Linked DNA regions of Homo sapiens: regions 1 and 3 are each linked to region 2. Evidence: promoter capture Hi-C in human tissues and cell types (Jung and others, 2019). All regions are on one chromosome and are shown on one strand. The core of a region is centred on a gene start or on the middle of the fragment in contact, and the rest is flanking DNA. Distances in the headings are between cores, read along the strand shown.

Region 1 (4,473 bases), core at 435-2,934, 620 kb after region 2:
CCTGCCCTGCTCTTACTACAAAAGCTGGGCACATATCTACCAAGGAAAAATTTGTCCGCCTTCAGGAATTTCTTTCTCCCTCTTTCCTAATCAGTGCAAATCCATCAGTCACCTGAAGTCTCATCTCCTCCATGAAGCTTGTCCTGTGTGACCCTTGTAACCTGATATCCTCATCTTTAAAATTATTATTTGAATGCCTCATCCCTTTCCCTCTTACAGCGTTTTCATTATGATTTTCAGGTTCACACTCAAACTCAGACATTGCTGATGTTCTTTGAACTCCTCTCTGGCACTTAACTTGCCTATCCCACACAATTAAGCACTCTGACCAATTTTGTAGTTAGGGTGAAGTTTTCATACAAATGTGGATATATTGAAGACAAACTCTAAAAAATTGGGTACTTGCTATGCTAGGATAGTGGCCTTTAATATATTAAAGAATATTTCTCTTTTTGAGTTAGCATTTTTAATAGAAAATTAGATAATGGTTAAAACTCAAATTGGAGTACTTGATTCCTGGTGATTTAAGAGATGATACAGAGGTCCTATAAGAGACTTTAGAGCTTACTTACATATCGTAAGTGGTAGGTCAATGTAGAGTTAAGTAGCAACGGCCTTGCAACTCAAGAGCAAGACTGTTAGATAATATAGGTAGAGAATCAAGCAGGATGAAGCAGTGTATTTAGTATAGGGAATGGAATTATTTGGAGTAATGGTACTGGGAAAACATGTCTGAACAGATAATAGAGAGTGTGTGGGGTTAAGACAGACTCTAGTGGCACTGGGAGGATTGGGATAGAGCTTGGTGTTGCACAGATATTGTGCCTTAAGCTTAAGTGATGTATTGATGATTTTCATGGAGCATTTATTCTTTTTAAAGGGAAGATTTATTTGGGTGTTGTCCTGGTTAACTTCAGGAAGGCTTCTGTGTGAAATTATGCTGGAATTCGTTTTAAGGATGTAAATCCTATAAATCCACAGCTTGGGTGACAAATTGAATCTCTAACAAATAGAAGGAATTTAAGAGAAAAATCCTGTTGTCAAAGAATAGCTGATATTACAAACAGTTATTATATATACAAATTCTCTATCCAAAGGATGTCTTTGTATGTTGTTGAGATCATTGTCACTGCTTACTCTCAGGTGGGTATAGCAGAACAAGAACTCAGATTTCTTGGATTCTCTTTTTTCTTTTTTTTTTTTTTTTTGAGATGGGGTCTCACTCTATTGCCCAGGCTAGAGTGCAGTGGTGTGATCTCGGCTCACTGCAACCTCCACCACCCGGGTTCAAGCTATTCTCATGCCTCAGCCTCCCTAGTAGCTAGGATTACAGGCGTGCACCACCACACCTGGCTAATTTTTGTATTTTCAGTGAAGACGGGGTTTTACCATGTTAGCAAGGCTGGTCTTGAACTCCTGACCTCAGGAGATCCGCCCACCTCAGCCTCCCAAAGTGCTGGGATTACAGACGTAAGCCACCGCGTCCAGCCAGATTCTCATATTTTTTGTAACAGCAGATCCCTTATAAGTGCATCCCTTTGCACACCTAAATGCCTAAATCATATTGTTGATAAGTTTAATTCAGCAAATAACTGTTATTTAGCCACTAGGGACGTTGCAGAAGAAACTACAAAATAAAGTTTTTTTTGTTTATTTTCTTCTCATCTCCTTTAGATATATGAAAAATGCTGCTCATTAGCAATGTTTGTGATGTGGTCATGCAAACCAATGTGTTTTGCGTCTAATGTAGCAGTTTAATGAGTGGGAAGATGACTATCCTGGGGTGAATATGAAATGTGGCATGGAAAAGGAAACAATTGCTTGTGAATCCTGGAGAATCTGGTAAAGGGGGAACTTAAATATGTCGAGGAAGGGAAAGGCATTGTAAACCAGAAGAATAGATAGGGAGAACAGTTTGAGCAAATTGTTTTGGGAGGCATATTTAATGTAGTGAAGACTTAATGTAGTAGTGATTTAATGCGAATTAGCTGGAAGAGACACTACCTACAAAGCTCATAATTTAGTCCAAATTCTGAGGAGTAACTTATACTAGGTTGGTAATGGTACTACTGCAAGTAAATAAAATATTGCCAAAATAATTTTGAAATTAGAGTCACCACGATTTAATGACTTGATAAAAATGTTAATGGAGAGAAGAGAGATTGTAAGTTTGTGTGATTTTTTAAAATAATTCAACTACTGATAGCAATAGGGAAGTTGAAAGGAAGGGCCCAGTCCACTTTAGTTTTAGATGTGTAGAGTTTGAATTTTCTGCATTTGATTTTGGTGAAGGAATTATGAGGGTACTTCAAAAAATAAGACTAGAATGTTTGTGTCAGGCCCAGATATATAAATATATATAAATATTTGGGCATGGAAAGAAAATCCCAGGAATCAAATAATGTGCCAGTTTTATGATTTTGACACACTCAAACCTCTGCCTTTTGTTTCTCTGGGTCACTCTGTCCAGTACAACAATAGGCTTGCTATGTATTTTGGATGAACAATGAAAGAGAGTGAACTGTTCTTTAAAAAGCTGTTTATTATAGTGAAACTTTATCTGTAGATGCAGCCACTTTGCCAGATCTCTGATGGAACTAACAATAATTTTGTCTAGTTAATTTTAATAGTACGTCCTTTGTCACAGGTTGTTCAAATGAACAAATATAACATGATTTTTATGGCAGGTAAAGAAGAATATTTTAAATGGAAGGAGACCTGATGCAAAGAAAAAGGCATTATTTTTAGTGGTGCAGCGATTTTGGGACTTATTATAGTAGAACCTATTCTTTATAGAGATTATTTTGTTTGATTTTTCTATTTTGTTTTTCTTTGCTATCTAGCTTTGTTACATAGTGACCATTTTTAGCACTATAAAACTTAATGTAGTAATCAGATTTAGCAGATTATTATTTAAAGCTGAGCATTTAAAATTAACTTTTTGCCCTGTGTTCATTTTTGAATTTCCTGTTTTTATATAAATATTTGATTAAAAAGCTTTCTGTTTAATAAAATTGTGTTATGATTATTTTAATGTCGTTTGAGGACATTTAAAAAACCCTCCCAAAATATCTAGGATATTGTTTTAATCTGTAGCCTTCTCAGTAGAAATTAAAAAAATTGGGGGATACACTTTTTTGTGTGAAGGATAAAGCTCTTGTATTAATGACAACATTAGGTACTGGGTAGTATTTTAGTCATTATTAAAATTATTATTAAAAATTCTGTTATATATTGTAACGTATTAAACATTTGAGTATGTGTTGAGTTCATCATTTGAATACATAGTGCTGTTTTAAGTTATTTGTGTGTTATGAAGAAAAGGTCACTATGTTTTATTTTTATAAGGTGGAAAAAACAATCCAGAATGATAATCAAAGCCAAGGTAGAGGAACTTGTTAAACACTTTAAAATTAGACTTCCCCCCACCCCCAGCCTCTAGTGTGATACTTTGAAGGCAGCTGCTACAGATAAACTCTGGAGCCCCAGATGGTGGTTGCCTAATCCTCATGAGAATTCATGTCCTGGAAGCAGCTCTTATCTCTCCAGACCTGACATTGTCTGTGAGCTTTTGCTAAGGAGGGAATAATATAAACATGCTATGCATGAGTTTCACTTCTTGAATATGTCAAAGACACAGGAAGTTATAACAAAGTATAAAAAGAACCGAGTTCACATTTATTGAAAATGTTGTTATTTAAAGCACTTGATGCTAGCTTGTGATGATGAGTGATGGGGTGCAGTCTGGAAGGAAAGGCACAGTGAACTGTTTTTTATTTTGGAAACGAAAATGCCAGTCTCAGTGTTATGATTTCAGAGATGTAGATTTGTCATTAAGTGTGCAGTACCCAGAATAATTCAGTTATTTGATCTAATGTAAGAATGTAAAACAATCCATCCTGTAAATGAATGTCCTGGCTTTTATTTCCTATGCAGGAGTCCTCTCTGTTTCGAAAGTCAAAACAGCAATTGCACTATTCTGGATTTGATGTTTTGTTAAAAAAAAAAAGTTTCCGAAATCTGATCTGTGAGATCTGGGCCAGTGACAACTATAAGTGGTTGTCTCTTTGGCATAGCAGCCAAATATTCTGAAGTGAAATTGTGGATACTTTATCTACTTCAGGTAGTGTCTCATTTAATATATGAGCAGGGATGTTGGCACTGTCATCATGAATAATTGTTGAATCACCCATCACTTGATGTTATGACTGTCTATAAGGAAAAAGGGGAATTTCCCATCTTATAAAATGACAAAATTTGTAATTAAATGGGAAACTGTAGTGTTCCTCATAACAAAGCCTAAGCCTGTCTTTCAAATCTGATACCTCTTTCTCTAAATAACCTGTTTTCCAACCACTCTGGCCCTCTTACTTGTCCTAGAATCTGTGGTGCCCTGTTATGTTTTCATATCTTTTTTCATTTTATTTCATCATTCTGCAGAGCCCTTCCTCAAAAAAGCTTCTATTCATCCTG
Region 2 (4,402 bases), core at 1,141-3,640:
ATTTATGGCCGGGCACGGTGGCTCACGCCTGTAATCCCAGCACTTTGGGAGGCCAAGGCAGGCGGATCATGAGGTCAGGAGATCAAGACCATCCTGGCTAACATGGTGAAACCCCATCTCTACTAAAAATACAAAAAAATTAGCCGGGCATGGTGGTGGGCGCCTGTAGTCCCAGCTACTCAGGAGGCTGAGGCAGGAGAATGGCGTGAACCCAGGAGGCGGAGCTTGCAGTGAGCCGAGACCACGCCACTGCACTCCAGCCTGGGTGACAGAGTGAGACTCCATCTCCAAAAAAAAAAAAAAGAACATTTATGATTAATGGGAAGAGGTCACCATATCAACATTAACAGGAGTTGGGAAGAAATTAATTCCAACCCTCATGGATGACTTTGAGGGGTTCAAGACTTCACTCGTGGAAGTAACTGCAGATTTGGTGGAAACAGCAAGAGAACTAGAATTGGAAGTGAAGCCTGAATATGTGACTGAACTGCTGCAATCTCATGATCCAACTTGAATAGATGGGGAGTTTCTTCTTACGGATGAGCAAAGAGAGAGTGCTTTCTTGAGATGGAAGCTCCTCTTGGTGAAGATGCTGTGATCATTGCTGAAATAACAACAAAAGATTTAGAATATTCCATAAACTTTGTTGATAAGGCAGTGGCAAGATTTCAGAGAACTAACTTTGAAGGAAGTCCTGCTGTGGATGAAATGGTATCACACAGCATCACATGCTACAGAGAAATCTTTCATGAAAGGAAGTGTCCATCGATGCAGCATTGTTGTTTTATTTTAGGAAATTGCCACAGCCATCCCAACGTTTAGCAACCACCACCCTGATCAATCAGCAGCATGGAGGCAAGACCCTCCACCAGCAAAAAGATTATGATTTGCTGAAGATTCAGATGACCATGTTAAATTAAGTTTAGCATAAAGCTGCCTCCTTATGCATTTTAAGTTCAGACTAACAATTTATTTCTTTCTCTCTCTCCCTTTCTCTCCCTTCCTTTCCTTTCCCTTCCCTTCCCTTCCCCTCCCTTCCCCTCCCTTCCCCTTCCCTTCCCCTTCTCTTCCTTTCTTTCTTTTCTCTCTCTCTTTCTCTCTTTCTCTTTTTTTGAGACGGAGTCTTGCTCTGTTGCCCAGCCTGGAGTGCAGTGGCACGATCTCTACTCACTGCAACCTCTGCCTCCCAGCAGAGAGAATCAAGAGATTCTCCTGCCTCTACCTCCTGAGTAGCTGGGATTATAGGCTCGCGCCACCAAGCCCGGCTAATTTTTTGTATTTTTAGTAGAGACAGGGTTTCATCATGTTGGTCAGGCTGGTCTCGAACTCCTGACCCCAAATGATCTGCCCCCGCCCCCCCACCAAAGTGCTGGGATTATAGATGTGAGCCTTTGCACCTGGCCTAACAGTTTCTCCATACATAGTGAATTGTAGACAACTACAATTGTAAATGTGTAAAGAGACTGTAACCTTGTAACAAGTAGCGAGTCTCAGTCAATCACAGCAGCGGAGTTTTGGCCAATCACAGGTGGCCAACTGTTTAAACAGTGCTCAAAATAGTCAGAGGTTGAGTTGCAACCAATCCAGCTGTTTCCATACTTGACTGCAATTTCTGTAAGTCATTTTCCTTTTTCTGTCCATAAATGTTATTTGAACATATGGCAGCCCGAATCACTCTGAACCTATTTTGGTTCCAGGGATTACTGGATTTTGGACTCATTCTTTGGTCAATTCAACTCTGTAAAGTTTAATTTGTCTAAAGATTTTCTGGGCCGGATACAGTGGCTCACGCCTGTAATCCCAGCACTTTGGGAGGCTGAGGCGGGAGGATCGCTTGAGCCCAGGAGTTCGAGACCAGCCTGGCCAACATAGCGAGATCCCGTCTCTACCCACAAATAATTTAGCCAGGCGTGGTGGCGCGTGCCTGTAGTCTCAGCTACTGGGGTTCTTATTCCTCGTGGCAACACATTTTGGAGAGGGGGAGGTATTCCTGTCTTTGCTGGGTGGGAGAACGGCCAGTGGGCAAGGGAGGACGAAAATGAGAACTGTGACTGCCAGAGGGCACGTCAATTTTAGGAAGAGAACGTAAGAAAGTTGGGTTCTGTGGAGACTTGGCATATCCACGCCACCTGGAAAATCATCACGTGCCCTCCGGGGCAAGACCAAGGCCTCAAGTCACCCCTCGCAGCCCAGTGGACCTCCCGGCCATCCCTTTCACGGCTCCACAGCGACCGCGAGCCGTTGCCCCGGTGAGAACCCCCCGGCACTGTGCGCGCCCCCGCCTGCCGTGCGCGTCCGCTTCCCTGGGATCCGGCGCCGCGCGCGCCCCCGCCGCGTCCCCGCCCCTTCCGGCCCGGGAGATTTGATTCCCTTGGCGGGCGGAAGCGGCCACAACCCGGCGATCGAAAAGATTCTTAGGAACGCCGTACCAGCCGCGTCTCTCAGGACAGCAGGCCCCTGTCCTTCTGTCGGGCGCCGCTCAGCCGTGCCCTCCGCCCCTCAGGTCAGTTCTCCCGCCTGCCCGCCGCAGTCGCAGTTGATGGCTGGGGTCTGGGCTGTGCGGGGCGCAGCGGCCCAAACCCAGTTTGCTCCTGGCTCTCGGGAGACTGGAGGATTTCATCGGAGCCCCGCGCTTTACCAGCCCTGTTCCCTGGATAAGATATTTGACCTTTCCGACCCGCGGTTTTCTTCTCCGTAAGTGGGGATAATGACCGTGTCTACTTAACAGGGTTATTGAAGAGGTGTTCAGGCTAAGCGTTTGCCACCTAGGAGGCTGCGATAGACGTGAATTCCCATTTCCCGTTTCCAGTTTCCGTGACTCTTCCCCGCGAAAAAAGTTGACAGAAGGGTTTCGAGTTTTTTCTGTTTGTACAACTCAGTTTACTGGGGCAGTGCAATAAAAAAGGAGATGTGTTATCACTACCTTTTCAGAGTCCAAATCCATCCTCTCCTATCATCTCCCCAGAGTAGTGGCTTCAGAGGCTCACACTAAAAGGGGAATTTTTTTTCTTTTTCTTCAAGACGGAGTTTCGCTCTTGTTGCCCAGGCTGGAGTGCAATGGCGCGATCTCGGCTCACCGCAACCTCCGCCTCCCAAGTTCAAGCGATTCTTCTGCCTCAGCCTCCCGAGTAGCTGAGCTTACAGACATCCGCCACCACGCCCGGCTCATTTTTTGTATTTTTAGTAGAGACGGGGTTTCACCACGTTGGCCAGGCTGGTCTCCAGCTCGTGTCCTCAGGTGATCCGCCCGCCTTGGCCTCCCAGAGTGCTGGGATTACAGGCGTGAGCCACCACGCCCGGCCTAAAAGGGGAATTTTCACCGAATGCTGTATCAGTAATAGGAGCAGCAGGATTGCTCCCACCAAGAAACCTGGTGTAGGGTTGTGGGAGCTGGAAAGGGTAGACTCAGGGAAGGCTGCCCAAGAGAGGAATCAGGTCCCTAGCACTTAGGACGGGTAATTACCTTTGGTATTTCTCCTTTGTTAGTGGAATGAGGTGAGTATCAGGAGCCTGGATTGTTGTTTAGAGGCCAGTGTTCCTAACTTTGGTTTAAATTTTGGTTTCTGTTTCCCATGGAGTCTGGCTAGAAAATCAGAAAAATCAGAAAAGCCCTTACTGGGCCTTCGTGGGCTTGTTTCTCCCAAGGGTCTGTCCTTTCTGTGTAACTACTGTGGACCAACTAGATGGGCAGATCAATCCCAATGAGTGCCTCATTGTTGGTGCTCCCAGAAGCCTTTGCAAGGGAGCAGGGCAGGATGCTAATTAAATGTGTTACAGGCCACATTATAAACCATTCTGAGCCCGGCGTGGTGGCTCACGCTTGTAATCCCAGCACTTGGGGAGGCCGAGGTGGGCGGATCACTTGAGGCCAGGAGTTCTAGACCAGCCTGGCCAACATGGCGAAACCCCGTCTCTACTAAAAATACAAAAAAAAAAAAAAAAAAAAAAATTAACCGGGCATGGTGGCGCATGCCTGTAATCCCAGCAACTGGGGAGGCTGAGGCACGAGCATCTCTGGAACCCAGGAGGCGGAGGTTGCGGTGAGCCGAGATCTAGCTACTGCACTCCAGCCTAGGTGACAGAACGAGACCCTGTCTCAAGCAAATAAACAGACAAAACCCAAAAAACCATTCTGTATTCTACTTCCTGTTTGAAATTATCCTCAGCATCAGTGTCTTTCCAAGCTCTGTAGATAAGGTAAATGTATTTATGCGGCAAGTAATAGAATAGCCCAAATAATATTGTTAAAAAATGCCCCCAATTTGTTGCTATCCTTTAAAATTTAACCATAAACGTCTTCTCATTATCCCAATTCCTTGCTCTTCTGAGAAGTTAAAGACCCCAATTATAGGCCGGGCGCGGTGGCTCACGCCTGTAATCCCAGCACTTTGGGAGGCCGAGG
Region 3 (4,514 bases), core at 1,698-4,197, 840 kb after region 2:
GTTACACGGTCTTCATGCTGGCTGGGGAGCCCCGAGAACTCGGGTTTGGTTCGTCCTCCAAACACGTGAACACGTGTTGAGCACTGACTGTGAATTCGGCAGCTGTGATGGGGGCTGAACTCAGGGCCAAGGAGCCAGGCTCCACTCCACTGTGACACCAGGTGTGGGGCTCGGGTAAGTCACCTCTGTGGCCTCTGACCGCAGTTTCCTTATCTGTAAGATGGGGATGGTGATGACTACCTCGGAAGGTTGTTGTAAGGCTTAAATGAGAAGATGGGCGTGTCTGAGGCCAGCATGGGGCCCTGTAAAGTGTGAGCAGAAAGGGGCTCTCCAGGTGCACTCCGGGTATGACTCAGGCGCCCGCTAGGATGCTCACTGGCCCGGCACTGACATCCAGAATGGACCACAAGGGAGAAAGTGGCAGGCTAGCAGGAGGGAGGCACTTTCACTAGGGGCTGGGAAGGGTCCTGGGAGGGCTTCCTGGAGGAGATAGTGTTTGCACCAAATGAAAACCGGTTCTATTCAGTGATGAGACTTGCTGCCTGCAGCTAGAACTTCCATTTAAAAACTGGACAGAAGACTTCCCCCAGGAGGTAACTTTAGACTGACTCCTGCACCTAGAGAGGGCATCCTTAGAGCATCTTAGGGGAAATCTGCCCACCCCTATGTATTTTCTTTTCTTTTTTTCTTTTCCTTTTTTTTTTTTTTTTTTTGAGACTATATCTCTCTCTGTTGCCTAGGCTGGAGTGCAGCAGTGTGATCATGGCTCACTGTGGCCTCTACCTCCTGGGACCAAGCAATCCTCCTGTATCAGCCTCTGGAGTAGCTGGGATTACAGGCATGCACCACCACACCTGGCTAATTATTTAGTTTTGGTAGAGATGGGGTCTCACTATGTTGCCCAGACTTCCCTCTGTCAATGACAGACATAATTCAATCATTCATTCATTCAATAAATATTTATTGAGCACCTACTAGGAGGTGCCAGGCATTGTTCTTGGTACTGGAATTATGGCAGCGAATGAAACAAAGCCCCTGCTCTCAGAGCTTACATCCTGGTGGGCATGGAGGGAAACTAGACAATAAACAGAGAAATAAAGATGTATCAGATTGGTGGAGTGTCCAGGGCTAGATGAGGCAGAGTGAGGGAGGGGGAGAAGGACCAGTGGGCAGGAAGTGGTGCCATCAGGGAAGCCAGTGAAGGGCCACCCTTTGAGTGACATCTGTAGGACATGAGGCTCAGACCCTGTGGACCTGGGGGGAGTGGAGAATGTTCCAGGCAGGGGAACAGCTGGTGCAGGAGGTCTGAGTGCTGGGCAGAGGGGATCCCAGGCGGGATCCCAGGAAAGCTGGAGACAGAGGGAGGGAGGTCAGAGGCGGTGGTGTCGGCCTCTGTGGGCCGTGATTAGGACCCTGGCCTTACCCGGAGGGAGACAGGAGCCTTTGGAGAGATCCCTTACTGGAGCAGAGGCTTGGCTCTGGCTGTCCGTGAGAAGGGACTGGAGCAGGCCCAGGGCAGAAACAGTGGGGCAACCAGGAGGCTGGGGCAGAGGGGCCTCAGCTTGGACCAGGTGCAGGCGACGGAGCTGGGCTGGGGGACGAGATAGGCTTCTGGGTGTGTTTAAAGTTGGAGCCATGAGGATTGGGTGATGAGTTAGACTCCCTACCCCTGAATGCCCTCACAGGACCACAAGGTTCCTGGTGCTCTCACCAAATACCATCTGGAAGCCTCCTCATTCCACAGGTGATTGTGAAAATAAGACCTTAATTGTTTCATTTTGTTTTTTTCCCCCAAAACAAAACCAAATGTAATGACTAAGAAAAGCTCCACTTCCACCTCCAGGGCGCCGCTCCCTCTGGTGGAGGGTTGGCTCCTGATTTAGATGCTTTCTATATATGAATTACAGGGAAAGGGAGGCCTGGGAGCAGGTCCTTCTGGCCAGCTGGGCGGCTCTCAGGGGCTGCCAGGATGCCTGGCTTCTGCCTGAAGTGAGCAGCTCTCAGTCCCTATGGGCCACGCCTCTGCATCATCAGGAGAGGGCTTGGGAGCACACAGGGACTTTGGTCTTTCTCCTGAGAGCAGTGAGGAGCCACGGAATGCGGCAGGCAGGGGAAAGACAAGACCGGATTTGCTTTTTAGAGGAGACCCTTGAGCAACCCCAGGAGATCAGGTTGGAGGAGGCAAGGCCGGAGGCCAAGCGGTCTGGGAGGGGCCTTCAGGGAGGGGAGGAGGGAAGGGAAGTGGGGCCCACTGAAGGCTGGGGAGTAGCTCCCTGGGCTGCCCCCTGTTGGTCATGACTCTGCCCTGGGGCCCAGGCCCGATGTCCACCTCGAGCCTTAGCTCCTGCAGGTGCAGCTAGATGGAGTCTGAGCTGGTGCAGCTATGTGGGGCCTGTTCTGGGCTAGTGACTCACTTCTGAACGGCTTTGGCAGAATGAGGCAGTTCTCCCTTTCACAAAATTCATCACAGTTCAAGCTTTTGGCCCCAAACAGCGGCAGATGACAGAGGGATTTCCTGAGGTGGTTTATGGGACTTTTGCTGAAATGGTAGCATGAACTTCACCTGGGCCTGCAGGGAGCCATCCCCTGCCTCCATCCCCTTGCTCCTCCTTGGCCTGTCCTAAATCAGGGATGGGACCTTGGTCCTTACCCAGAGCAACCTTGGCCTTCAAGCAGCATGCCTGAGCTCCTCCCTCAGGTTCTGCTCAAACCCTTTTTCCTCAGAACCTGCACACCCCGCTGGGTCGTCACACAGCAAGGCCCATGCCTCCTCCTCCAGGAAGCTGCACTCTGCCCAGATCTCCTTGGATGATGCTAACTCATGGGGTGTGGGGAGTGTGGAAGCCCAGCTTCCTTGCCTGGGGTTTCAATAACCCTGAGATGTAACTTGCATTCCAGAGCGGCCCTCGGGATCACAATGAAGCACCTGCCTGCTGGACTTGGCCAGACATGGCACTGTTGGTCTTCCTTCCCTCCCCTCTCCTGCTTCCCACTCCTTTCCTGGTTTATTCTGGGGGCACTTCCTTAATCAATCACTTGCTCACAAATCCTCAGCAGAGAGCCTGCTTCTGGGGACCCGACCCAAGACACAGCTTCCAGGGGTCACTCCTGCTGTTTCTCAGCTTGGACGGATCCTCCTTGACTGCACCCCTATAAAACAGAATGCAACGCAGAGCTTGTCTCCTGGGGAGAAGCTTCCCAGTGGGACCAGTCCTGCACTGAGGTCCCATGACACCTTGGCAGGCCCTGTTCCTGGTGCCCGAAGACTGGCCTCGGTCCTGGGAGGTAGCCCCTCCCCTTGGCTCCACCCACAGTTGAGTCTTTGCACACAAAGTTGTTCTGCCCACCTTGGCTCTTGACTCCACCCCACCTCACAGCCTCTCTGGGCCTCCGTGGCTCCATCTATACAATGAGGGCACAGGCTCTGCCCCTGTGAGCGGTGGTGTGACGCTGGTTCTGGATTCCTGCTCCCAACCTCACCCTGCGGTAGCTGAGCCAGGACCTCTGGAAAAGAGGAGCCCAGCTTGTTCAAGAATGAACAGCTGGGTCCTGGCTCAGAGAATCAACCATTCTGGCTGTTACAACTCATTACTAAATCCCAGCTATGCCCTGAGGAGGATTAAGGAAACTGCTCCGGTAAAAAATCCCCAACAGAAAGAATGCACTCCCTCCCAGGGAGCCCTAGAAATCTGACCACGGTCATCTTCTCCTGGCGGTCTCTAACCAATGCACATTCCGGGTGTTTGCGTGCCAGAGGGGCCAGCTGGGCATCTGCGCGATTGGCCAATGCCTGGCAGAAAAGCAGCCCAGGGTGCTAGCTTTCTGATTCACGGGCAGGACTTCAGGTAATGCCAGCTGCTGAGGGAGTTTCGTTAGGCTGCATCGCCCCAGGGAGGAAACCTGAGGCTGGATGGCAAGAAGCCTGGACAGGGCACTGCTCTGCCTCGAACTTGCTGGTGACCCAGGCAGGGCACTGTCCCCTGTTAACTCTCAGCTTTCCTACTTAAAAACTGGGAATGGTATCCCCATTTACAGGGATGTACTCACTTACACAGAATATGTCTATAGAGTGTTCACCCTGTGGGGACCCATGTTGGGCACTGGAACCATGAAAAGGCTTGGACCCTACCCTGTCCTTGCCCTGTGTCGCTCCCAGGCTTGAAGCTGGGAAGGTTAAAGGAGAGGGTCCGAGGGAGAAGTGGGGTATGTATGTGGGGGCCACATTAGCACAAAGCCAGAGGCCTGCAACCATGATGCCTTGAGGCTATGGATGAATAAGCAGATGTAGCTGAAGGAGCCACTGGGGTTGGCTGGCAGGTCAGGACAGGGCAGCCATGAGGGTTGTGGTCACATGCCTCAGTGTTACTGTCTTAATCTATTTTCCGCTGCTATCACAGAATACCGCAGACTGGGTAACTTATACAGAAAATAACTTTATTTGGCTCATGGTTCTGGAGGATGGGAAGTCTAGAAAAATAGTGCCAGCATCTGGAGAGAGTCATCCTGTGGCACAA

Evidence for each region. The method cuts DNA at HindIII sites, captures the fragments that hold promoters and counts their contacts. A contact is called where the count stands out against the background at its distance.
Region 1: a fragment that was not itself captured here is called in contact with the fragment with the promoter of MELK in region 2 in 1 of the 25 tissues and cell types used here (dorsolateral prefrontal cortex).
Region 3: a fragment that was not itself captured here is called in contact with the fragment with the promoter of MELK in region 2 in 1 of the 25 tissues and cell types used here (lymphoblastoid cells).

The regions. Positions count from the first base shown.
Region 1 is chr9:37,193,757-37,198,229 of GRCh38, forward strand. All of the region lies in intron 2 of ZCCHC7 (zinc finger CCHC-type containing 7), which reads left to right. Among named protein-coding and RNA genes, the nearest start is that of ZCCHC7, 75 kb to the left of the region's middle. The HindIII fragment of the contact is 4,086 bases long and covers 1-3,727 here.
Region 2 is chr9:36,570,505-36,574,906 of GRCh38, forward strand. It overlaps MELK (maternal embryonic leucine zipper kinase), which reads left to right and starts at 2,391. Exons shown (of 18, transcript NM_014791.4): 1 at 2,391-2,503. RefSeq lists an enhancer at 1,110-1,609 and a silencer at 2,193-2,472. The HindIII fragment of the contact is 26,418 bases long and covers 1-4,402 here.
Region 3 is chr9:37,409,183-37,413,696 of GRCh38, forward strand. It overlaps LOC105376035 (a long non-coding RNA gene), which reads left to right. Exons shown (of 4, transcript XR_007061479.1): 2 at 1-174. Among named protein-coding and RNA genes, the nearest start is that of GRHPR, 11 kb to the right of the region's middle. RefSeq lists enhancers at 57-476, 962-1,753, 1,531-1,580, 2,501-2,550, 3,336-4,126. The HindIII fragment of the contact is 5,702 bases long and covers 97-4,514 here.